Regions from separate parts of the Homo sapiens genome. Here all the other regions are linked to region 1. Evidence: promoter capture Hi-C in 16 types of primary human blood cells and fetal thymus (Javierre and others, 2016). All regions are on one chromosome and are shown on one strand. The core of a region is centred on a gene start or on the middle of the fragment in contact, and the rest is flanking DNA. Distances in the headings are between cores, read along the strand shown.

Region 1 (3,702 bases), core at 1,172-3,671:
AAAGTTACAATAGCATACTTACCATATCCTTTGTTGAAGACATCCTTAGCAGCCTTTCCTAGGTCACAGTACGTTGGTGTGTTACACATATCTTATAAAGAAAAACAGGGCAAAGGAATAAAAATAACCATTTAGTATTTATTCACCCACAGTTCTTCTGCTGTTTAATCCTGTGAGAAGGGGTATACAGTTTTCTCTTCCTGTGTATCATTAATGCTTTAATGCAATCAAAGGTATGAGACAGCAGTCTGCTCCTTAAAAAACAGACCTTTCCAGAATACTGAGAATAAAACAGTTTTCCCGTGAGATTCAGAGGTCATCTTTCTGATTGCATTTCAAAGAAAAGTAAGTTCTTACAGGATGAAAAAGATGCTATGTTAAACTGGACTTCTTTTAAAAATATATGCAAAATTTACCTTAGAAAAATCTCTCTCAGGCTCTTATGAAACCAAAGACCTGTATAAGACAACAATGGAAATTTTTAAAGAAACTGTTAAAAGATGCAATCAAAATCCTCAGGGTTAACATTTTTCTCCTCTGAAATTCAGTTCTTAAAATAAGAATTTACCATACGAATTGAAGTGTATTCATCTAGAATATATCTTCTCTCAAAGCTCTTCTTAAAGTGCTATAATTTTACCCATTAACCAGAAATATGACAGATTCTACCTGCAGCAACCTGCTTACCAAAAGTTAGTGTAAACTCTGAAGTTAAAGCCTTCAAAAACCTCAGGTGCCTTGATTTTTCATCTTGCCTACTAAAAATCTGCCCAGCTTTGCTACTGGTAATATGACCCTCATATCAAATTCTCAGAGCTATCAACACTGCTGATTATCTCATTCCTTTGCCCTCTTTGTATCATGGGAAATCTTTCTGCAGCAGGTTCTTCTGTATTCCTCTCGCAGACTCAAAAGCTATGTCTAACCAATTACAGAGCCACCTCTAGCAGTGCCATTAGCCCATATGTCAGAAAAATCCAGAGTACCAGCTAGCCCTTGCAATTGCTACGCCTGAATGATCTACACATTTAAGCTCATATTTATTTATATATAGCCCAGCTCTTAATCCAGACTTCTGCTAAGCTTCTGCCTACCCCATCATACCAAACATATACATATGATGCACTTAAATGGGAATGCATTTAAGTTTTGTTCCTTAACATAAACCTGTCAAATATGACAGACACTATGATATAAAGAGACTAGTATAAAAAACTAAAAAGAAAAAAAAATTAAAGAGGAAACGGTAGTATAAATGTACTGACTCATTCCATAGTAAAACTTTGCTCTAAGCTACCAGGTTTCATAATTCACTTACAGAACGATTATTTTACAATTCAATCCCTTGTACTAAAGTGATCAATTCTAGGCTTTTTATATTATCCCAATTGCAATTTGATATTACTCTTTATGATTACAACTGATGTTGATATTTGTTGAAATTTTGCCAGAAGTCTGTAATTTGGGAAGTAAGTATAGAAATGCAGGCAGTATATATTGAAATAGAAATGTTAAAGCTTTACAGTCTGGTTTTTCATACTGCCGAGAAAAGATACACTTAAATGTTTAGAAGCACTATATATACGTCTAGGGACTATTTACAATATTTCAGCATTTTGTTTTGTTATTTTTCAAAACCAGTACGAGATACTATGCAAAAGTCACGTAGCTGGTTTAGTATACTAACTGACCTCAATTCTGCCTAGTTCAAGCTGACTTTTTCAGGCCTATGACTCTGATGGGAAATGCACTGCTAGTATGATCAAGCAAAAATCGAGAACAACAGAAACTTCATGTTCCTCGAGAGTAAAGCTACAACCACACGTCTCCACCAGCTCTACAGAATGCACCTGCCCATAGATGTGCACACTGCACAGAGGCTGCAGGAGACGCAGACGGGGAAAGGCGTTAAGCCGGTTGCTACTGCTTTACAAAGCCACTAACTTGACAGCCAGTACAGAGCCCTTTTCGTTCCTCGCTTCTCCGTTTTGAATTGCACGCAGGGCACCCTCCCTCGGCCGTAAGGAGGGGGCAGGGGCGGGCGGGAGATGGGTGTGGGGTTCGAGGATCCAACTTCCCTAGAACCGATCTCCTTTCTAGCTGACCCCTGGGAGGAAAGTGCGGTCCACACGCCGGCGGGATAGGTCGCTGCCCGCGCCCGGAGGCCACTTGCCCCGCCGTGCTGCGGCTCCATCGCCTGAGGTGGCCCGGGCGGGTCCCGGCGGGAGCGAGCGGCCCCGGCCCCCCGCGCCCCGGTAGCCTGCTCCCTGCCCACAGAGCCTCCGTTAGGCCCGCCTCCCGCCTGGCGCTCTGCTCGGCCGCGGCCCACCGCTCTCCGGGACTGGAGCCCGCGCGGCCTCAGCTCTCCTCACCTCCACCCCGAGGGCCTGTCTCTGCTCCGCCAGGGCAACGCTGAAGGTCTTCAAACCAACGCCGTCCGCGCCTGCGCAGCCTCGCACCCCCAGCCGCGCCTGCGCGCCGCCCCTCCCCGAGAGCGCCTGTGCGCCGGCGTGTCGCGCCACGGTCGCGCGCTTCGGAGCAAGGCGCGGAGACGAACAGCCGGGCCAAGCCAGCACCACCAACTGTCCGGCTCCGCAGCGCGCGTGCGCAGGAGGGCTCGGTGTGGACAGTGAGGTTGACTGGGGGCCCAAGAGGCTGGGGACCGCACCTGTGCCCTTGAGGGGACTCATTCTCGCGAGAATGCGCGAGGTTGCTAGTTAACTGTTGCCATGGGTGCGGCCGCGAAAAGGCCGCAGGGTGCCGGACCCCAGGTTTGAGGCATGCCGCAGGCCGGAGTGTAGTGGCGCGATCTTGGCTCACTGGAGCCTCGACCTCCTGGGCTCAAGCCGTCCTCCTGCCTAAGCCTCCTGAGTAGGAGGGTCCACAGAAGCGCGCCACCACGCCCGGCTAATTTAATTTTTTTTTTTTTTTTTTTTTGGTAAAGACGGGAATCTCCCTATGTTTCCAGGCTGGTCTCGAACTCCACGGCATAAGTGATCCGCCCGCCTGCGCCTACCAGAGTGCTGGGATCACAGGCCTGAGCCCACGCCCAGCCTCTTATGGGAATTTCATTTCAGACTGACCAGACTTCAAGAGTGTCACTCTTAGGTCATCTCGTCTTAAGGATGAGAATACACAGGTCCCCAGGGAGTAAGTGATTGATTCAAGATCCCACAAGTAGTGAGAGATGATAATTCAAAGGGGCAGAGGATGTGGAGGAGAAAAAGCTCTTCTGTAGAGGAGAAGACCAACTAATAAAGGTAGAATAGATGACAGAAATAGAAAATCATCGTCTTGGAACCACCATGATAATAATTGATTCAGGCTGAAATGATCAGTGGACCGTTGAGGATGTTCATATGGTTTCAAAGTATCACCCCCATAGATTACTCACTAAAGAGAAAAGGGTACCTTCACATCAAAGAGACTGATCAAACGGGGGATGGTAGGGACTGACATATGCCCCTGGTGTGAGGCACAGAGAGGGACACAGAGATAATATTCTTGTAAAAGTGTGTAATTTGCCTCTCTTCAGGACGAAACAATCAGGCAAATCCAAACTGAGAGACCTGCAAGACAACTGCCCAGTCTTCAAAAATGTCAGTTTCATGAAAGATTAGGAAAAAGGCTAGTGAACTGCTCTAGGTTAAAGGAAGCAGCCTGTAATCCCAGCACTTTGGGAGGCAGAGGCGGGCGGATCAT
Region 2 (3,567 bases), core at 781-3,280, 470 kb after region 1:
CCATGGTCTGGATGTACCAGTTTATCCATTCATCTACAAAAGGACATCTGGTCCCTGCCAATGCTGGCTATTGTGAACAGAGCTGATAAATGTCTGTTTGCAAGTTTTTGTGTGGAGACAAGTTTTGAATTCATTTATATGAATACCAAGAAGGGCAATTGCTGGATTATATGGTAAGAGAATATTTACTTTTGTAAGAAATTACCAAACTGTCTTCTAAAGTGACTGTACTATTTTGCATTTCCACCAGCAATGAATGAGAGTTCCTGTTGCTCCACATCGTTACCAATATTTGGTGTTGTCAATGTTTTGGATTTTGGTAATTTTTTTTTTTTCACTGAGACATCACTGGATTTTGGTCATTCTAATAGGTGTGTAGTCATGTTTCATTGTTGTTTTAATTGGCATTTCCTTGATGACATATGATGTGGAGCATCTTTTCACATGCTTATTTGCCACCTGTATATCTTCCTTGGCAAAATGTCTGTTCGGGTCTTTTGCCCATTTTTATATTGGGTTGTTCATTTTCTCATCATTGACATTTTTTATTTATTTTTATTTTTATTTTATTTTATTTTAGTTATTTTTTGAGACAGAGTCTTGCTCTGTCGCCGGGCTGGAGTGCGGTGGCATGATCTCGACTCACCACAACCTCTGCCTCCCCGTTCAAGCAATTCTCCTGCCTCAGCTTCCCAAATAGTTGGGATTACAGGTACAGGTTACCATGCCCAGCTAATTTTTTATATTTTTAGTAGAGGTGGGGTTTCACCATGTTGGCCAGGCTGGTCTTGAACTCCTCACCTCAAATGATCTGCCCACTTCGGCCTCCCAAAGTGCTAGGATTAGAGGCGTGAGCCACCGCACCCAGCCACATCATTTACTCTTTTTTTTGAGACGGAATCTCGCTCTATTGCCAGGCTGGAGTGCAGTGGCACAATCTCGGCTCACCACAACCTCCACTTCCTGGATTCAAGTGATTCTCCTGCCTCAGCCTCCCAAGTAGCTGGGACTACAGGTGTGTGCCACCATGCCTGGCTAATTTTTGTATTTTTAGTAGAGACGGGGTTTCCCTATGTTGGCTAGGCTGGTCTTGAACTCTTGACCTTGTGATCCATTTGCCTCAGCCTCCCAAAGTGCTGGGATTACAGGCGTGAGCCACCGTGCCTGGCCCATCATTGACTTTTAAGAGTTCTTTATGTATTTTGGATTCCTTTATCAGATGTGTTATTTGCAAATATGTTCTCCCAGTCTGTGGCTTGTCTTCTCATTCTCTTGTGAGAATTGTCTTTTGCAGACAAAAGTTTTGAACTTTAATGAAGTCCAGCTTATCAATTATTTCTTTCATGAATTGTGCCTTCAATGTTGTATCTAAAAAGTCATTGCTATACCCAAGGTCATCTATGTTTTCTCCTGTTCTAGTAATTCCATAGTTTTGCATTTAGGTCTGTGATCCATTTCAAGTTAATTTTTGTGAACAGTATCAGGTCTGTGTCTAGATTCTTTTTTTTTTGCATGCGGATGTCCAGTTGTTCCAGCACCATTTGTTGAAAATACTATCCTTACTTCATGGTACTGCCTTTGCCCCTTTGTCAAAGATCAGTTGACTATATGTATGTAGGTCTATTTCTGGTCTCTTTATTCTGTTTCATTGATCTATTTTACTATCCTTTCACCAATATCACACTGTCTTTTTTTGAGATGGTGTCTCACTCTGTTGCCCAGGCTGGAGTGCAGTGGTGCGATCTCAGCTCACTGCAACTTTCGCCTCCTGGGCTCAAGTGATTCTCCTGCCTCAGCCTCCTGGGTAGCTGGGATTACAGGTTCCCACCACTGCACTTGGCTAATTTTTGTATTTTTAGTAGAGATGGGATTTCACCATGTTGGCCAGGCTGGTCTCAAACTCCTGACCTCAAGTGATCTGCCCACCTCGGCCTCCCAAACTGCTGGGATTACAGGCGTGAGCCACCATGCCTGGCCACACACTGTCCTTATATTGTTGCTTTATAGCAAGTCTTGAAGTCAGATGGTGTCAATCCTCCAATTTTGTTTTTCTCTTTCAATATTGGGTTGGTTATTTGGGTCTTTTGCCTGTACACTTTAGGATCAGTTTTTCAATAATCCACAAAATACCTTGCTGGGATTTTAATTGGGATTGCATTGAGTCTATAGATCAAGTTGGGAAGAACTGACATCTTGACAATATTGAGTCTTTCCTTCTATGAAATGAATATCTCTCAATTTATTTATTTCTTCTTTTTTTCATCAGCGTTTTGAAGTTTTCCTCATATGGATCTTGTACATATTTTGTTAGATTAAGAACTAAGTATTTCAGTTGGGGGGATGCTAATGTAAATAGTGATATGTTTTTAATTTTGAATTCTACTTGTTTATTGCTGGTATATTGGAAAGTACATAGTGGGAGATTTTGCTGACTCTTCTAGGTGTATGACAGAATAGCAGACAAATCAATCATGATATAAAAGAATTGAACAGGTGTAGTAAAATTGTCCTAATGGACAAATATAAAACATAACAAAATATGCAATATCTTTAAAAATTGACCATACATACAGCAATAAAACATATTTCAACAAATATGAAAAGATTGAAATCACACAGAGTAAGTCTTCTGACTATAATGTGAATGTGCTAGAAATCTATTTAAAAAGGCCAGGCGCAGTGGCTCACACATGTAATCCTAGCACTTTGGGAGGCCGAGGCGGATGGATCACCTGAGGTCAGGAGTTCAAGACCAGCCTGGCCAACATGGTGAAACCCCATCTCTACTAAAAATACAAAATTAGCCGGGCATGGTGGCACATGCCTGTAATCCCAGCTACTTGGGAGGCTGAGGCAGGAGAATCACTTGAACCTGGGAGGCAAAGGTTTCAGTGAGCTCAGATTGTGCCATTGCACTCTAGCCTGGGCAACAAGAGCGAAACTCCATCTCAAAAAAAAAAAAAAAAAAAAAAAACTGGAAAATTCCCAGATATTTAGAAATTAAGAAATGCTTTTAGATAATTAATGAGCCAAAGAAGACTAGAAATTAAAAAACATGCCTGGGCGCAGTGGCTGACACCTGTAATCCCAGCACTTTGGTAGGCTGAGGCGGGCAGAACACGAGTTCAAGAGATCAGGACCATCCTGGCCAACATGGTGAAATCCCCTCTCTACTAAAAATTAGCTGGGCGTGGTGGCACACATCTGTAGTCCCAGCTGCTTGGGAGGGTGAGGCAGGATAAGTGCTTGAACCTGGGAGGCGGAGGTTGCAGTGAGCCGAGATCGCGCCACTGCACTCCAGCCTGGCGACAGAGCAAGACTCCATCTCAAAAAAAAAAAAAAAAAAAAGAAATTAGAAAATATTTTGAGCTGAATTATTTGCAACCCGTATGAAATAATGGATCTAGGCAAAGATTATCAAATGCCACTAGCATCTCAAAAAGAAACACCTGGGATATTGTGTGCCTTTTCATACCACCTATGAAAATACCCTTGTCAGAAAACCATGCTGGTTCTAAATGTGCTTCAATTTATCAGTTTACAGAAAACACAAGGGACAGAGGCACA
Region 3 (3,395 bases), core at 62-2,561, 410 kb after region 1:
GAAGAGAACTGTCACCTTAAAAGGTGGGGGGATAGTCTTTCTGAGTGGGCATCTTAACATTCTTACATGATACGGATTTATTGTTATTTTCAATATCTAGGCATCCATCAATGGTGAAGTGGTTCATTTATACATATTTGCCAGTCTCTAGCTAGAAGATAAAATACTTGCCTTAAATATATCTTGAAATATCTCTTTATTGAAAGGAGGAAATAAAATAGTATTAGGTCGTGTTGATTATATCACTGCTTAGCACTTTTGAGGGCCCTAGAGCTATAGAGATATGGTTTATTCAAAACTTAAAAAAAAAACCTTTTTATGAAATACTTTATGAAATAAAAAGGTTTTTTGTTGTTGTTGTTGTTGTTTTAATGAAATACATTCTGAACAAATAAGTGTCCAGATTGTAAGGGCGCAGCTTAATGTTACTCTTTTCTTTTGATTCCTGTTCATTGAGAGGTATTTAGTTTGGGCATAGTTGCCTCATGGTTGGACTTCCATATTCATATGCTTATAGGTTCTTTAAAAAAAACTTCAGCCAGACCCCTCTTTTTGTCCTATCACAAATTCCATTTTAACTCTGATTTTATAATTTATAGGCTTCTTAAGTAAAATGCCTATAGGATATTTCATAATATTTGTTTGGAAAAAAATTTCCTGTTGATAGAAAATGACTTAACCGTACTTTGTAGTCATGTTAACACTTTAGGTTTTTACTTGAATTCACTTATTCCACCCCCTCACCCATGGAGTCTCACTCTGTCGCCCAGGATCTTGGCTCACTGCAGCCTCCACCTATCAGGTTCAAAGCGATTCTCTGCCTCAGCCTCCCATGTAGCTGGGACTACAGGCGTACCACGACACCTGGCTAATTTTTGTATTTTTAGTAGAGATGGGGTTTTGCCATGTTGGCCAGGCTCGTCTTGAACTCCTGGCCTCAAGTGATCTGTTCGCCTCGGCCTCCCAAAGTGCTGGGATTACAGGCATGAGCCACCGCGCCCAGCCTGAATTCACTTACTGATTGTTACTTTTTGAAACGTCTTCAATTTATAAATACTAAAGAATAAATACCCACTTTTTCCATTTATGTGAAGTCTGAGCAAGGGGCCTTCTAAGAGTCCTAAGAAAGGTTTTTTTTTTGGAGTTGGAATCTCACTCTGTTGCCCAGGCTGGAGCCCACCTTGGCCTCCCAAAGTGTTGGGATTACAGGCGTGAGCCACCATGCCTGGCTTGCAGCTAATGTTTTTTGTAGAGATGCAGTTTCACCATGTTGGCCAGGCTTGTCTCAAACTCCTGACCTCAGGTAATCCGCCCACCTCAGCCCCCCAAAGTGATGGGATTACAGGCATGAGCCACTGTGCCCAGTCAAGAAACATTTCCTTAGGACTCCTTTCTTGTGTGTTTAACTTCTACAAAAGAGATTATATAGCAGCTTTAGGCAGGAAACTTTTTTTTTGAGACGGAGTCTCACTCTGTCGCCCAGGCTGGAATGCAGTGGTGCAATCTCGGCTCACTGCAACCTCCGCCTCCTGGGTTCAAACGATTCTCCTGCCTTAGCCTCCCGAGTAGCTGGGACTACAGGCACGTACCACCATGCCCAGCTAATTTTTGTATTTTTAGTAGAGACAGGGTTTCACCATGTTGGCCAGGCTGGTCTTAAACTCCTGACCTCAGGTGATCCACCCGCCTCAGCCTCAGTGGACTTCAAGTGCAGTCAGTGGACTTCCAGTGCAGGCTTGAAGGTGTATGTGAGTCTCTTCCAATTATTTGTAGAATTTTGTGTGTATATGTTTTAATGTTTATTTTGGATTGGAGGGGGTATTCATCAGATTTTCTAATGACAGTCTTTTACCTGAAAAAGTTAAGATCCTGACTTAAGACTATCTGAAACCTTTCAGTGTATTTATGTCTGTCACACTTCTATGTGGAATTTTATTTTTTTATAGGCATGTGGATATGTCAAATATGTCGACCTAGGAAAAAAGGACGAAAACTTCTACAAAAGAAGGCAGCACAGATAAAACGGCGCTATACTAATCCAATAGGACGTCCAAAAAACAGGTTAAAGAAACAAAACACGGTGTAAGTTGTACTTGTGGCAAGGTGAGGGGAGAAAAGGATAGGGTCTTCTCTATAGTGTAGGATTCACTTGTTTTCTCTATGAAAAAAATTCCATTGTCATATCTGGCACTTTTATATAATAATAATGGCTAACACTTATTCAGCCCTTAATAAGTGCCAGACACTATTCTAAGTGCTTTATATGCATTGAATTGTTTAATTCTGCCAACAACCCAGTGAAATATAGCTGCTGCTGTTACTTTCATTTTTCAAAGGAAGAAACTAAGGCATAGTAAATGTTGAACTGGGATGAAAATCCGAGTAGTCTGGCACCAAAGTCTGACTCTTAACCATTGCTTTATGTTGCTTCTCTTATATAAAAACAGGAAAGAAAAAGTTGTTACTGTGACATTTCACATGTCACTCTCCTGATCTTGTCTCAGTTGTTAATATCTATTAGGTGTACAAATCACTGGATAGGTTCTTCCTATTGAGGTGATGGCTAAGTCCCATTTTTGTGTTCTTTGGATGTAAAATAATTTGAATGTTTTCATCTATTAGCAGAAATCAGAAATTGTGGACTAGAAAGCTGGGCTATGTCTGGAGGAGGTGGGGCAAGATTCAGTAGCTAGTTTTGTCTTTTTAAAAATGTCTGTAGTAACTCACCTTTGATGATATGTAAACGTCTTCAGGCTTGTCAACCTCCCTTTATTATCAAAAGTTTTACTTACTTTTTTTACACGTAAGACTATCTTGAAGGTGATATAACTGAAATGAATGGGCATTAGCAGCCTGAAATGTACAGAACCAATATTGTAGTCTATATTCAAAATCTTAAATCAAGCTTTGATTTTCCTATAAAATGATCTTTTGATTCCTGGCCTTCGAAGAATAACCCATCCTTGTGTTTTAGAGATAAAAGTATAACTTTCAGTTGGTGCAGAGATCACAGTGTAGTAGAACTTTATACCTGGAAGGATCTTAGTTGTTCTTAGTCCAGTTCTCATTTTACAGATGAAGGCACTGACATATGTTTAGAAAAAATGTGATTTGTCCAAGTCGTACAGCTAGTAAGAGAGAATTATGACTAGAACAAGTCTTCTGACTCCTGGCCTGTCATTCTTTGCACTATAAGTAGGCTTCCTGGCAATAGATGTTTCTAATAATAATATTAATTTTCATTCACAGAGTACTATTTATAGTTTGCAGAATATTCTTAATAATATAGATTTTAATAAAGCTGTAGGTTACTTACTAATTATATGTTATGTATTAAAAAGGAACCTTACAAGTATCTTTTTTAATACTTACCCTTTCCCCTGTTTAATTGTTTA
Region 4 (3,842 bases), core at 72-2,571, 430 kb after region 1:
TGAAGAGATAATTGGAGTGGTTTCAAGAAAGAATGGAAGGAGAAATTGGTTATAGTAGTAATATGTGGCCATTGTTTTGAGGTTTTTTACAGTAATTAGGAGCAGAGAAAGGGAGAGTTGGATAGAGCTGTGAGGGCTAAAGAAGATACTTTTTTTTTTTTTTTTTTTTTTGAGATGGAGTCTCGCTCTGTCACCAGGCTGGAGTGCAGTGGCACCATCTCGGCTCATTGCAACCGCCACGTCCCGGGTTCAAGGGATTCTCCTGCCTCAGCCTCCCGAGTAGCTGGTACTACAGGTGTGCGCCACCACTCCCAACTAATTTTTCTATTTTTAGTAGGGACAGGGTTTCACCATGTTGGCCAGGATGGTCTCGATCTCTTGACCTTGTGACCCGCCCACCTTGGCCTCCCAAAGTGTTAGGATTACAGGGGTGAGCCACCATGCCCACACACCCCTCTCCCCCTTTTTAAAATATGGAATGAATAACAGCTGTTTGTATGCTGATGGAATGCTCTGGTAGAGGGAAAGCTGATGATGCAGAAGATAGGAGGGGAACTGCTGGGTGATGTTCTTTGGCTAGGGAGCAGGAAGATGTTATCTCATGCACAAACGGAAGCCGTGGGCTTAGGAGCTCAATCTTTAGCCATAGTATTGGTGAAAGGCAGGATGTGTGGCACAAAGGTGGAGGCAGACAGATGTGGGTGGGAAAAATTGCAGAAGTTTTCTTTTGATTTTGTCCAGTTTAGTGCAGTAGGAAGCAAAAGCATTGGCTGAAAGTGAAGGTGGAGTAAGCAGTGTTGGAGGCTTGAGCAGAGGAGAAAGGGTGCAGTTGTCTTTCAGAACGGGAGAGTGAATGGAGTAGGAAGCATCAGGACCTGCTTGAGGTTTGTGGGTAGGTGTATAATGTGAGACTGGGTAGCATGATTCTCTGTTTTTCTCCACCCATATTCACATTAAGGTAATAACTTCGATTATGTGAAGAGTTGAATTTAACAGGGGTTAGGATTTTGTTGTGAAATTAGAAGAGAAACTAGAGAGTTAAAGGTCTATGCAAAGGGTGGAATTACAGGGAAAAAGACCTTAGAATCTAAGCTGCGTAGAGAGAAAGGAGGGTGTGGGGAGAGTGGAAAGCTGATGGAAGCACTGGATTATGGGTCCTCCGGATGGAAAAGGTAAGATGGCCGAGGACAGAATTCTAGATTTTGTCAATATTTAATGGTAAAAGAATTAGCAAAGGAGATGGATAAAGAGAAGTCTGAGTGTAGAGCAAAAAGGCTTAGGAAAAGGGAAAGATAGGTCACAATATCCAGAATCCTGAAATTTAAGGAGTCCTGAAAATTTGAAAAAAAATAATTGTGGTAAAATATACATAATGTAAAAGTTATTTTAACCAGACTTTTTTTTTTTTTTTTTTTTGAGACGGAGTCTTACTCTGTCACCCAGGCTGGAGTACAGCGGCGTCATCTTGGCTCACTGCAAGCTCCGCCTCCCGGGTTCTCGCCATTCTTTGTATTTTTAGTAGAGACGGGGTTTCACCTTGCTAGCCAGGATGGTCTCGATCGTGATCCGCCGGCCTTGGCCTCCCAAAGTGCTGGGATTACAGGCATGAGCCACTGCGCCCGGCCTAACCAGACCATTTTTAAGTGTACAATTCAGTGGCATTAAAGACATTCACCTTGTTGTGCAATCATCACCATCATCTATTTCCAGAACTTTTTTATCTTGCAAAACTGGAACTCTGTACCCATTAAACAACTCCCAACCCCCCACCCCTACCCCCACCCCTGGTAAGCATCATTCTGTCTTCTGCCTTTATTAATTTGTCTACTCTAGGTACCATAAGTAGAATTATACAATATTTGTCCTTTTGTGTCTGGCTGTTTCACTTAGCATAATGTCCCCAAGGTTCATATGTATTTTAGCCTGTGTCAGAATTGCCTTCCTTGTATTTTTTTTTTTTTTCTTTAAAGACAGAGTCTTGCACTGTTGCCCAGGCTGGAGTGCAGTTGCGCGATCTTGGCTCACTGCAACCTCTGCCTCCCGGGTTCAAGTGTTTCTTCTGCCTCAGCCTCCCGAGTAGCTGGGACTACAGGCATGTGCCATACACCCAGCTAATTATTGTATTTTTAGTAGAGACGGGGTTTCACCACGTTGGCCAGGATGGTCTCAATCTCTTGACCTCATGATCTGCCCACCTTGGCCTCCCAGAGTGCTGGGATTACAGGCGTGAGCCACCAGCGCCCAACCATTGCCTTCCTTTTTAAGGCTGGAGAATATTCCATTGTACGTATGTACCACATTTGGTTTATCCATTCATCTGTCAGTGGATACTTGGGTTGTAAATAGTGCTGCTATGAACATGAGTATGCAAATAGATACCCATATACAAAGAACTGCTTTCAGTTCTGTGGGGTCTATAATCAGCAGTGGAATTGCTAGATTATGTGGTAATTCTGTTTACTTTTTTGAGGAACCATCATACTGTTTTCCACAGCAGCTGTGCCATTTTGTATTCCCGCCAGCAATGGGACAAGGGTTCTGATTTTTCCACATCTTCACCAACATCTGTTATTTTCTGGTGTTTTGCATTTAAAAATAATAACCATCCTAATGGGTGTGAAGTAGTATCTGATTGTGGTTTGATTTACATTTTCCTAATTATTAGTGATGTTGAGCATCTTTTCATGAGCTTATTGGCCATCTGTATATCTTCTTTGGAGAATGGAAAGAAACTTTTCCAACTTTTTTTTTTTTTTTTTTTTTCGAGACAGTCTGGCTCTGTCACCCAGGCTGGAGTGCAGTGGCGCGATCTGGGCTCATTGCAAGCTCTGCCTCCTGGGTTCACCCCATTCTCCTGCCTCAGCCTCTGAGTAGCTGGGACTACAGGTGCCCGCCACCAAGCTCCTCAGCTAATTTTTTGTATTTTTAGTAGAGATGGGGTTTCACCTTGTTAGCCAGGATGGTCTCGATCTCCTGACCTCGTGATCCGCCCACCTCAGCCTCCCAGAGTGCTGGGATTACAGGCGTGAGCCACCACGCCCGGCCTTTTCTAACTCATTTTGCAATAAAGTCCCACTTGACCTGAACTGAGTTACTGACAAAAACATGATCTGAGCTGATGTGAGACTATTTGTATTCCTTACTTATGCCAGTTAATGTGAATATTCATATGCTTTGCTAAAGAAATTTTAGTGTGTCTGATTATGGAGTGCTGCTCCAAATCCTACTAGGGCTATACACATGCATGTACTATACACATATATGTACTAATACTTTTCTAAAATCAGAAAAATTCAGAATTCCAAAACACATTCTACTCCAGTCCAAGGGTTTTGGGTTAAAAGTTTGTGGACTTGTAGCTTCATTTCTTTGGAAAACCAAGTTCCCGTTTTTAAAAACTTACCCATAAACTTTGGGAATTTAGGGAGGAATTAGTTGAGGGCTGTCGTTACTTCCGTCACATCTCAACCCATGTCATTCTTTTCTGTCTTTATGCTTCACTCGCTGTTCCTGCCCGGTGCTTTTGCCTCTTAACCTGAGGCTTATCTGAGGCTTATTTTTTCATCTGCAGAGTGGGTATATTGTTTTCTACTTTGAAGGATGGATTGTGGGGACCAAAGGAGGTAACGACATAAGGCTCAGGTCAGAGTCTAGCACAATAGGTGCTCCACGAACATGATTTTCTCTAGTCCTTAAATTCATGCTCTCTCTGTTGTGGAGCATGTGAATTCATTCTTTCATACCTCTTTCATCATGTAACTTTTAATCCCTAATGAATGGAATTACTTACTGTAGTGTTTCTGTGGGAAAATGTTCAAATGCCAGAAAGCCATCTCTTCTCC
Region 5 (3,756 bases), core at 460-2,959, 350 kb after region 1:
CTGGAGCAGGATTAGGACTCATTCAGCTGCAGCTGGTTCCCAGGAAAATGAAAGCAGTTCCTTCTGGTTTTTTCCTTTCATATGAAAGTCATAGTTCCCAGCAGATGGCTTTCATCAGCCCTGTACATGTATCTGTAAATTCAAGGCCAAGGAATTATTTTCAACTTCATTAGGGAACAGGTGAAGAAACCATTTGTAGTGTGGCACTATTTTATTAGGAGTTGAAATTAAGCATAGAGATTATAGTAGTATGCCATTCTGGGTCAAAATAGTTTTTAACTGTCAGCAATTTAAAGAAAAAAAAAGACTGCTAAGGAAAAGTAAGTCTGGCTGTAGTGTTGATTGAGGTATCTTTTATGGTTGAATTGTATTATGCTTACGAAACATAGATTATTAGAAAAAAAGACTTGTATCTTCTGCATTGTGTAGAATGTTCAGCCAGTAGCAATCTTGGATCACAGTGATTCTAATCTGATTTCACAAATAATAGGGAAATTTGAGAGCCAAAGAGGTTGAAGTGTCTTGTCCAGTGCCACACAGCCAGTTAATACCATCTGGAAGAATTGGTCAGGCCCTTCTCAATTTTGTGCTTTTTTCATTATGCTGTAGTACTGCTTTATAGTATTAGAGAGCAGTGAGCCTAAAATAATTTAGTTAGAATTCTCTTCCTTAATGGAAACCATAGAATAAACCTTGTCTAGAGAATATTGGTGGTATCGTAAACCACAAATATATAAATCTGCTATTTCAGTGTGTGAAAATAGCTATACACTCTTGTTAGAGTTTTGAAACAACTTTTTGGGAAAAGACTGCTTTCTTATGGCCCAAGTTAGAGGAATCAAGGTTTTCTTATGTTGTTGGCTAAATATTAGAAGGGGAACATGTTGAGCTACCTTAATGCTGGAAGAAAAAGTACTCCTTGAGTTTTGGGAAAAAAAGTCCATTTAAAGGTAAGTCTAATTTTCAGTAGGTCTGCAACACAAATGACCTCTGAGTGACTTGGATCATTGGTTAGAATTTAAAATTCTTGAGACTGAGCTAGAGATAGCAAGGTACAAACCTTTCTATTAATTAATGAAGTAATTTTTACCAAAGACATTAAATATGGGTGGACCAAAAGTGTATAGTCTAGCACTTCTATAAACATAGTGTCTGGGAGGAGCTTGAGAGATTTGTAATGTTACTTGTAAACAGACCGTGTGGGGAAGACCGCAGACAGCACATCATTTTTTGTCTTTATTGGTCTTTATGACTAACACTTCATCTCTGCATCACTTCTGCTTTGCTGTAAAACTTAGCAAGTACATTAGGATAGTGGCAAATAAAGATTAAGATTGAGGACAGATGTTTGTAAAATAACTGGGCGATTTTAAGATTATAGGTGTAACTTGTTAAGAAGAAGATAACTGGTGTGGAAATAAAATCTGGCAGCCAAAAAAAAAAAAAAAGCTTTCAATGTGTTAAAGAAGATAGTTGCTTCTTTTGCCGTTTACCTTTTATGTAGAATAGGTGATTCCGCAGATCTAGAGGTGTTGTCAGACTTGTACTATGGGCTGCGTTTTCCTCCAGGGAATTGTGAACTGTAGTTGACCTGAAGAGCTGCTAAGTGTTGGTTTTTAATTCTTTGAGCTTAGTAAAGTCTAGGTTCCTTTTTTCTTAGTCATTGGGTACAGTGAAGCATTTAACTCCTGAGTTTTCTAGAACCTTTAACAGAACTCTCAGAAACATTATTACTATTTTTGTGTGTGGAGTGTGATTCTGTACTTTAATAGTTTCCCAATTTTTCTATTCAGGGCATCTTTAAATATCTAACTTACTATTTAAACCCTCTTTCACCATTTTCCTGCCTTACTTTTTTCCATGCCACTCAGTTTTTCTTTAATTCTGTAACATAAATCCAAAGCCTTATTCTTTGGAAAGCAGTGGTACTTGGCACTAAATTCACTTTAGCATTACCTGAGGAAGCTTAAAAAATAAATACCAAACTAATTAAATTTGACTAGTAGTGAGGCCCAGGTTTCAGTTTTTTTTATTTTTTATTTTTTTAAGAATGTTTATCTGATGTGCAGCTGGGGTTGAGAACCATTGCTCTAATGCTTAGAACCAACATCTCTGTAGTGGGGACTGGCTAAGAGAGTCAGAAGACAGAAGAAGCAGGTACTTTTTAACCTCATAATTGACATTCAAACAAATGATGAAATAGCATGCTTCACACACACCCTCATGAACACACTTTGGACCCAGGACAGTGTACTTCTGGAAATGTACATTCTGTTTTATTGTCCTCCCTGGCTATAACTACTCTAATCTTCCACCTTTCTTTCTCCTTACCCTCACTGCTTTATCTCAAGAAGATCTTGTGTGGTATATAGTTGCGAGAAAGTTACCTGCATGATTCCGACAGGTGCCCTGCCATCACTCTAATGCTGTTCTCATTGCTTGGCCTTATGGCACATTCTCACTCACTCACTACTCCTGCATCATGTTGGCAAACTCCAGCCATTTACCACCTTCTCCTTTTTTTTTTGAGTTGGAGTCTTGCTCTGTCACCCAGGCTGGAGTGCAGTGGTGCGATCTCTGCTCACTGCAACCTCCATCTCCTGGGTTCAAGCGATTCTTCTGCCTCAGCCTCCCAAGCAGCTGGGATTACAGGTGCCTGCTACCACCCCTGGCTAATTTTTGTATTTTTTTAGTGGAGACGGGGTTTCATCATGTTGGCTAGGCTGGTCTTGAACTCCTGACCTCAGGTGATCTGCCCACCTTGGCCTCCCAAAGTGCTGGGATTACAGGCATGAGCCATCGTGCCCAACCTCTCTGCTTTAACTTTGGGGAAAATCTCATGACCATGTGGTGGGATGCCACTTACAAATTTGTGGCCTCCAATCTGAGCTCTGCCCTCTGCTTGAAGATGTATGTCTGTGTATAGTCTGTTCTGTCTGCAGAAATTCAGTATTTCTTCCCACCTTTTTTTCTCATTTTCAGTAGATACTCCCATATGCTACATCATAGAGATAATGGAATCTGTCCAATTGAGCTCATTGAGTTTATACCCCTCTCATGCCATCCTAAATACATCTGTGCTTATTTCTGCCCGCTTTGCTACCTTGTCATAGGACAGTGAAAGAAGTGTGAAAGGCTCATCTCTCCATTCTTTTTCAGGACCCCATTCTCTGCTACCTCAGGGGCCGTGTGCCATCAAAAATAGTCCCATTTTTTGACTCTATCATCTTTCTCGCTCACTTTTTAGTCCTTAGCAGGCAGAAGACTCTCCCGTTAGAGTAAAAACAACCAAAAAACCACTGCAGATCCTTCTTTCTATGTATACCCTGTCTGTTTCCATTCATTTTTAAACTTCTTGAAAAAAGTCTATATTCATTCCACGTCTGCTGCAATCTGGCTTTTGGCCCTAGAGCAGCACTATTTGAAACTGCTCTTGTGGACAGTTTTCAGTCTTATTTTACCTGAGTTCTCAGCTGCATTTAGCATTTGTTGACCATTCTTCCCTTTCCTCTGGGATAATTCTTAGATGTCTCCCCCTTCCTCCCATCTTTCTGGTAATTCCTTTTCAGTTTATTGGCGTTTTATCTTTTGCCTGTATCTAGATGTTGGATTCCCTAAGGTTCTGTTCTTCACTCATTTCTTACTGTTTTCTAGAGAGTTATCTAGAGATAACTTTCCTGAGTTATTTCTAGACCTCTGTGTTCTTTACTGATGACTCTAATTTCATATCTTAATTTGAGAGCTCTCTTCTGATCT
Region 6 (3,706 bases), core at 750-3,249, 380 kb after region 1:
TTAACTTTGCTAACTTAACTTATTTGTGTAAGGGAGGACAACCTCCCTTCCCTCATCTCTTGCCTCCCTTAAGACCTGTTTGGGAAGCACTGCTGTTAACGTGCAGTTTCTGGGGCTCTGATGTCCTGGTACCTTGCCTTTTGGTTATTTAATGGGAGTTAAGAGTCTTTGCCTCATCTGCATTTGCATTAAAATGTCTGTGGGAGTTACTTCAAGGGGAAAAATGAGCTAGTCTGTTTCAATTGGAAAAGTCTATGTCTAGAGTGTGTCTATATGCATGAGCAAACTTTGCTATTTTTAAATCCCTGTGTGAACGTCAGATTTTTTGGCTGTTTTGGCTTATTGCAGTAGGAATAGATAAATTGATGTTCAGCTCAGTTGTTCATAGCATTGCATGGGACAAAAAGATGGTTACTACAAAATTATGAAATCAAAATGCTTTTTGAAAACCTAAATTTTCAAATGAAAAATATCCTTCAACATACATATTTAGCTCACCCTTTATTACCTGTTTCTCTGCTGAAAGGATAGAATAGTACATATGCCAGGAGTTGAAATTTATCTATACATTGAAATTTATACGACTGTATAGGAGGTTGTGGTTTGGCAGCAAAAGCTTTCTAGATCACTAATTTGTAAGCGCCTTGAAGGTAAGTGTTCAGTGTCTCTTACATCTTTGTATTGCCCACAGGCAAATGCTGTTTTATGAGTGGCAGTAATTTGTATTCTGAACTTAAGGCAAGAAAGACTTTGTATAGGATCTGCTTTTAAGTGCTGTCGTGGTATCTGGAAAGTTGTTTGCATAGTTACCTCCTTATCTGTCTGTCCTCTTGGCTTCCTAGTTCTGCTTTCCCCCCAGCTCATCCATGTTGAAGGGATCTGGCTATAGATTGCAACTCTGCTTACTGTAGCATAGGGCTGCCAGCTTGGTAGTCCGGATTCTTTTTAGCACAGAAGGGGCATGAGACCACATTGGACATATTACTTGTGAGCTTTGAGAAGTTTTTGTGGATAACATTGGCAGACAACCTCTGACTTTGACATTATAGCCTACTCTGTTATATTGTTCTCCTCTCTTCTGCCTTACTATCTCCCTTCATGCACTGGTTATCCCATTTGAAATAGTGTTTCTGGAGGCTTAAAGATGAGGAGTAGTTGAACAGTTATGGACAGTGATTTCTCAGCTCCTTAGAGAACTGAACCCATAATCTATCCTTTCCTAGCGTAATCCTGAACCTGTAACTACATTTAATAACTGCATGTACCGAAGTATTTCAAGTAATCCTGAACCTGTAACTACATGTAATAACTGCATGTACCGAAGTATTTCATTGGATCACATACTGCTCCAGCTTCTACTTCAGTTTCTACCTCCCTTGTATATGAGGTCACTTATTCTAGTTGAGTAATATCTCTGAATTTCTTCCTTTATTTATTAAAAAAGTGCTAATATGCTGTCCTCCGAGCCCCATTTAATCTTTTTCTGTTTTCTTATTTTCCTTGCTTCTCTTTAGCCCCCCGATCTGTCCTTGTCTTATTGCTGTAACCTGCTGCCCCTTATTGATCATACAGTGGATTGAAGGTATATTTGTTGACTTAATTATCTATGTGTTTTAAGAAACTGGTTGCCTGAGGCATTTCTGCGTGTGTGTTTTAAAAGAGAGCATAGCCTCTTGATCTCAAGCCAAAAATGTGGTTCATTTAACTGGTATTTTATCTTCAATTGATTTTTCTGTGGAGTTTGGCCTTGGATATATATAGTATGGGTATAGATGATTGTGAATGGCTTATAATAGCTGATTACAGAGTATGGCCCAGAAATTCTTTTGCTTTGTACTGTGTATGGAACAGTTTGGTATGAAAATTAACTGTAGCAAAAGCATAGTTAACTTTAATAGCATATCTGGCATCTCTTTTCTCACACATCACGTCTAGTACAGTAGCAAATCCTTTTGGCTCTGCCCCTTAGAACAGGGGTTAGCAAATTATGGCCCCCACCTCTTTATAGTTCATGAGCTAAAAATGTTTTTTTTTTAACAATTCTAAATGGTTGAAAAATATTAAAATAATATTTCAAACACATGCAAATCATATGTAATTCAGATTTCAGTGTCCATAAGTAAAGTTGTATTGGAGCACAGCCACACTTGTTTTCGTTTCTGTGTTGTCCAAGGCTTCTTTCACGGTACCGCGGCAGACTTGAGTGGTTTTAACAGAGACCCTGTGACCTCAGAACTGAATATATTTACTGTCTGGTCTTTACAAACAGTTTGCCAAACCCTGCTCTGTTGTATATCCAGAATCTAGCACTTTTTACTTCCCTCTTGACTAAGTCATTGTTCTTGCCTCCTAATTGAACTCCTTGCTTCTGTTCTTGTCCCTTTAAATCTGCAGTCAGTGGAGTGATCTTTTTAGAAAGTAAACCACCCTCTGTTTAGATAAAATAGGTTAATAAATAAGTAAATATCAAGGACAGTTTTGAATGAAAATTATAGAAGGACCATTAATCTTGGTTAGGATAGGAGCAAGGAACCCCATATATTGTGTTTAAATGCTGATGAATACAGAAGTGACCATACATATGTGTGCATGAGCATTTGTAATTGAAAAAAAGCAGAGCCAAGGCCGGGCGTGGTGGCTTACGCCTGTAATCCCAGCACTTTGGGAGGCCAAGGCGGGTGGATCATGAGGTCAAGAGATGGAGACCATCCTGGCCAACATGGTGAAACCCCAACTCTACTAAAAAATACAAAAATTAGCTGGGTTTGGTGGCATGCGCGGCTGAGACAGGAGAATCGCTTGAACCCGGGAGGCGGAGGTTGCAGTGAGCCAAGATCGCGCCACTGCACTCCAGCCTGGCAACAGAGCGAGACTCCATCTAAAAAAAAAAAAAAAGAAAGAAAGAAAAATGACAGAGCCACCTCCCTCTGTATTGCTATATTTATTTATCTATAAATTTACATGCAATAATGCATTCTTTTCTGTGTCTACTTTTATGAGTTTTGATAAATGGATAGAGTTATATAACCAATCACCACAATCAAGATATAGGAAAGATCCATTATCCACTAAAAAAAAAAAAAAACTTGACTTTTGTAGTCATCACCCTCCCCCAACCCTGGCAAACCACTGAGCTATTATTCTCCCTATAATATTACATTTTCCAGACTGTCATATAAATGGAATCAAGTATAGTTTTTTAAGTTTGGCTTATTTCATTTGGCATCATGCATTTGGGATTCATCCATGTAGTTGTCAATAGTTTGTTCCTTTTTGTTGCTGAGTAGTACTCCATGGTGTGGTAGGTACACCATAGTTTGTTTATCTCTTCCCCTATTGAGGGACATTTGGTTTCAGTTTTTGGCAATTATGAATAAGCTTTCTATAAACATTCATATATAGGTTTTTGTGTGAATATAGTACAGTAGTTTCCTGTGGCTGCTGTAAAAAATTGCGAAACTGGATAGCTTTAAAACAGCAGAAATTTATTCCCTCACTATCCTGAGGGTCGGAAGTCTGAAATTAGTATTTCTGGACTGAACTCAAAGTGTTGGCAGGGACACATTGCCCCTGCAGGCATTCTGAGCTTCTGGTGGCTCTTGGCATTTCTTGGCTTGTGGTCAGCAGCAGCATCACTCCCATCTCTGCCTCTTCACATCATGTCTTCTCCTTTGTGTGTGTGTCACCTGTTCCTCTGCTTCTCTAG
Region 7 (3,698 bases), core at 1,164-3,663, 410 kb before region 1:
CAAGAAAGACTAGAGATGTGTTTATGACAAAGCAATTGCATTACTGCCGTCTACCTAAGAAATCCAGCACTTACACATGGGGACATACTGTGGAATGTTCACAGAAGCTGTATTGGTATTGGTAAAAAATTAGCCATCATCTAAATGCCCATCAAAACAAGTATGGCTGGGCATGGTGGCTCACGCCTGTAATCTCAGCACCTTGGGAGGCCAAGGACAGAGGATTACTTGAGCCCAGGAGTTTGAGGCCAGCCTGAGAAACATAGTGAGACCTCATCTTTACCAAAAATTAAAAACAACAACAACAACAACAACAAAAACAAACAAAAAAAAACTGGTGTGGTGGTGCAAGCCTGTAGTCCCAACCACCGGGGAGGCTGAGGTGGGAGGAGCTCTTGAGCCTGGGAGGTCCAGGCTTCAGTGAGCTATGATGTGCCACTGCACTTCCAGCCTAGGTCACATGAGATCCTGTCTCAGAGAAAAATAAAATGAGTATGAACAAATAAATGATGGCAGCTCCACAAATAGAATTCTAGACAGCAGTGAAAATGATTATACTGCTAAATGTAGATGACTCTCATAAACATGTTGGTTTTAAAAGTAACCTACAGAAGATTCCATACAATTATATCATTTATACAAATTTTATGCAAAACAATACCAGTGTTGCTTAGTGATACATACATATGGACAACAATTATAAACAAATGTGTTGGGATGATAAACATATAATTCAAAGTACCGGATACTTTTGAGTAGGAGGGAGATGCAATTAGGGAGGAGTATGCAGGAGATTTCAAACTTCATTAATAATATTTTATTTCTTGGCCAGGAGCGGTGGCTCACACATGTAATCCCAGCACTTTGGGAGGCCGAGGTGGGCGGTTCACTTGAGGTCAGCAGTTCGAGACCAGCCTGGCTAACATGGCGAACCCTCGTCTCTACCAAAAATACAAAAATTAGCCGGGCATGGTGGCATGAGCCTATAGTTCCAGCTACTCGGGAAGCTGAGGTGGAAGAATCACTTGAACCGGGGAGGCGGAGGTTGCAGTGAGCCGAGATCGCGCCACTGCACTCCAGTCTCCTGGGCGACAGAACGAGACTCCGTCTCAAAACAAAACAAAACAAAACAAACAAAAAACATCATAAATGTCAATGCGCACACCACCCAGCTTTAGAAATAATTTCCTCTGTCGCCCAGGAGGCAGTGGCGCGATCTCGGCTCACTGCAGCCTCCGCCTCCCAAGAGTTCAAGCGATTCTCTGCTGCAGCCTCCCGACTAGCTGGAAATACAGACGTGTGCCACCAGGCTAATTTTTAAAAATTATTTTCACAACAACCTCTGGTTCTAATATACCACATCTTATTCAGAATTTTTTCATTGCAAGGAACAGCCAGTAGGTGGCAGGGGAAGCTTGGTATTTGCTGTGTCTGACAAAACAACCTTCCCCCCAACCCGCAATCACATAAACGTAAGGCTTCCTTTAAAGTCACTGATCACATGTCACTTTCCAAAATAAAATGAATTAGCTAAAACCATTGCTTTCCTTATTCATGAATATTTGCATTCTGGTATTCATTGTTCCTAATAGTAACACTATGATCTTTTGAAACATTATTAAACTTTCCAGTGGGGCAACTGGTTTTTATCCCCTGGTGCCACTACAGCAATGCTTCTGTGAAACAGGCTGCCACCGCAGGTTCCGACAACAGGGTTATTGCAGCATGTGCATGGGGGTGCAGTGGGGGAGTGGGACTGCAAAAACGGCAGCCATCTCATGCCTGAGTTCCTACCCATCTCGCTGACCTTGGGTGCAGACCGTCAGGCACATTGCTGAAATCTGCTTTCACACTCACTCCTAAGAACGTTCTTATTTTCTATGGGGGGTGAGGGAGGTGGCAAATGCCACATAAATATCTTGCTTTATGTAGAGCAACTAAGCAATACAGACTAGCTCAGCAAAATGATCTGTCTGCATATTTTCCTAAATAAAACAGCAACCGAAGACATCTTCTATTTTCTGCTTAGGGCCGAATTAGAAAATTATTGCAGGCCGGGTGCGGTGGCTCACGTCTGGAATCCCAGTACTTTGGGAGACCGAGGCGGGCCGATCACTCGAGGTCAGGAGCTCAAGACCATCCTGGCCAACATGGTGAAACCCCACCTCTACTAAAAATACAAAAATTAGCCAGGCATGGTGGTGCATACCTGTAATCCTAGCTACTTGGAGGCTGAGGCATCAGAATCATTTGAACCTGGAAAGCAGAGGCTGCAGTGAGCTGAGATCACGCCACTGCATTCCAGCCTGGGCCACAGAGTGAAACTCCATCTCAGGAAAAAAAGAAAAGAAAAGAAAGGAAAATTATTGTGGGTCATGGTCTGAATCTGGCCGGCGGATGTATTTTGTGGGGCTACTGCCATTTGAAGTGTGTTTTTAATTGGTCAAAATTAAAAATTCAGGAGAGATCACATAGAATTAAGATTTTAGGTTTCTCTTAAAAAAAAAAAAAAGCAAAACATATTCTGGCAATGCCTTTCCATGGGGCCCAGTGAGCAGGAACAGAGCCAGGCTGACCCTGCCTCTGGAAGGGGAATATGTGGCTGTCTCACCCAGGCCTTGCACTCCTGGCTATCTGTTGTTTTGCCCTGACAAAGACTCTCCTTATCCAAACTCTGGCCAGGCTCCTCTGAGCCCTTTCTCCACTGGACCTCAATGTTGGCCTAGCAAGAGTTGAGCAAAACACTGACCCAGTTTCTAGCAGCTTAAAGCCACTTCTCTAGGATGTCCCCAGAGGAAAAATGCCTGCCTGAGGAAACTCAAGCTGCCAAAAGAATTACTGACTCCCAACCTCGGTGGGGGCATAGGAGCCTAACTTGGGTAACACTAGGCCCTCATTCCTGCTTTTCATAACTTTTCACTTCCCTCAGTCTACTGAGCCCCTGCTCACTCACTTCACTGCTCCCTCATTCTCTCTTTAAAAACTCCCAGTCACCTCTGTACAAATCGAGGTTGAGCTCAATTCATGCTAGACTCTCTCTGTTACTGAACCACCAGGGTTTCAGTCTCCGTCCTGCCGCAAGCTGCACAGAAAGCCAATGAACTGGGACCACCAGTAATGCCAAGGAAGAAGGCGTTAATCCAGTGCTATGGCCGAGGAGATGGGGACTCAGCCTCAAATCCATCTCCCTGACCCACTAAAACTAGGGGTTTCTATAGCAGGGAGGGAATGTAACAATGTGTAAGAAAACAGGAACTTGGGAGGGCCAAGGAGGCAATCATGATGAATGAAGGGTCCAACTCATTGTCAGGATGTGGTGATCTGGTGAGTTTCAGTTCCCTGATACTTTTTTTGAGCAGCCTGAAGGTCCATTCCTGAGGAAAGAACTCAGATAAAACAAACGTAAGCTTCAAGCTTTAAGACCAGAAGGGTCCATTTCTGTGTCTATCCAAAAAAAACTGGCTGGGTGCGGTGGCCCGCGCCTGTAATCCCAGCACTTTGGGAGGCCGAGATGGGTGGATCATGAGGTCAGAAGTTCAAGACCAGCCTGGCCAAGATGGTGAAACCCTGTCTCTACTAAAAATACAAAAATTAGCCGGGCGTGGTGGTGGGCGCTTGTAATCCCAGCTACTCAGTAGGCTGAGGCAGAGAATTGCTTGAACCTGGGAGGCAGAGGTTGCAGTGAGCTGAGATCGCGC

What was found. The method cuts DNA at HindIII sites, captures the fragments that hold promoters and counts their contacts. A CHiCAGO score of 5 or more calls a contact.
Region 2: a fragment that was not itself captured here is called in contact with the fragment with the promoter of VDAC3 in region 1 in 1 of 17 cell types (total CD4 T cells); the score reaches 5.6 in total CD4 T cells.
Region 3: a contact is called between a fragment that was not itself captured here and the fragment with the promoter of VDAC3 in region 1, in 15 of 17 cell types (activated CD4 T cells, naive B cells, total CD4 T cells and 12 more). The highest score is 17.1, in activated CD4 T cells.
Region 4: a fragment that was not itself captured here is called in contact with the fragment with the promoter of VDAC3 in region 1 in 14 of 17 cell types (total CD8 T cells, activated CD4 T cells, non-activated CD4 T cells and 11 more); the score reaches 17.3 in total CD8 T cells.
Region 5: a fragment that was not itself captured here is called in contact with the fragment with the promoter of VDAC3 in region 1 in 10 of 17 cell types (naive B cells, activated CD4 T cells, non-activated CD4 T cells and 7 more); the score reaches 9.6 in naive B cells.
Region 6: a fragment that was not itself captured here is called in contact with the fragment with the promoter of VDAC3 in region 1 in 6 of 17 cell types (naive CD8 T cells, naive B cells, total CD8 T cells and 3 more); the score reaches 8.6 in naive CD8 T cells.
Region 7: a contact is called between a fragment that was not itself captured here and the fragment with the promoter of VDAC3 in region 1, in 2 of 17 cell types (megakaryocytes and naive CD8 T cells). The highest score is 8.3, in megakaryocytes.

What each region holds. Positions count from the first base shown.
Region 1 is chr8:42,390,599-42,394,300 of GRCh38, reverse strand. It overlaps VDAC3 (voltage dependent anion channel 3), which reads right to left and starts at 2,421. Exons shown (of 10, transcript NM_005662.7): 1 at 2,373-2,421; 2 at 417-456; 3 at 23-91. The coding sequence starts at 89. It also overlaps a transcript of DKK4 not described here. RefSeq lists enhancers at 1,916-2,416, 2,417-2,917 and a silencer at 2,145-2,674. The HindIII fragment of the contact is 9,991 bases long and covers 1,520-3,702 here.
Region 2 is chr8:41,919,237-41,922,803 of GRCh38, reverse strand. No RefSeq gene overlaps it. Among named protein-coding and RNA genes, the nearest start is that of ANK1, 120 kb to the right of the region's middle. The HindIII fragment of the contact is 5,707 bases long and covers 1-3,567 here.
Region 3 is chr8:41,977,329-41,980,723 of GRCh38, reverse strand. KAT6A (lysine acetyltransferase 6A) reads left to right here. Exons shown (of 17, transcript NM_006766.5): 6 at 1,947-2,082. Among named protein-coding and RNA genes, the nearest start is that of KAT6A-AS1, 73 kb to the left of the region's middle. The HindIII fragment of the contact is 3,193 bases long and covers 1-2,907 here.
Region 4 is chr8:41,958,081-41,961,922 of GRCh38, reverse strand. All of the region lies in intron 8 of KAT6A (lysine acetyltransferase 6A), which reads left to right. Among named protein-coding and RNA genes, the nearest start is that of KAT6A-AS1, 92 kb to the left of the region's middle. The HindIII fragment of the contact is 5,570 bases long and covers 1-3,842 here.
Region 5 is chr8:42,035,384-42,039,139 of GRCh38, reverse strand. The region is part of intron 2 of KAT6A (lysine acetyltransferase 6A); the gene reads left to right. Among named protein-coding and RNA genes, the nearest start is that of KAT6A-AS1, 14 kb to the left of the region's middle. The HindIII fragment of the contact is 516 bases long and covers 1,452-1,967 here.
Region 6 is chr8:42,012,450-42,016,155 of GRCh38, reverse strand. All of the region lies in intron 2 of KAT6A (lysine acetyltransferase 6A), which reads left to right. Among named protein-coding and RNA genes, the nearest start is that of KAT6A-AS1, 37 kb to the left of the region's middle. The HindIII fragment of the contact is 2,762 bases long and covers 619-3,380 here.
Region 7 is chr8:42,803,140-42,806,837 of GRCh38, reverse strand. No RefSeq gene overlaps it. Among named protein-coding and RNA genes, the nearest start is that of CHRNA6, 36 kb to the right of the region's middle. RefSeq lists an enhancer at 2,722-2,881. The HindIII fragment of the contact is 1,993 bases long and covers 1,417-3,409 here.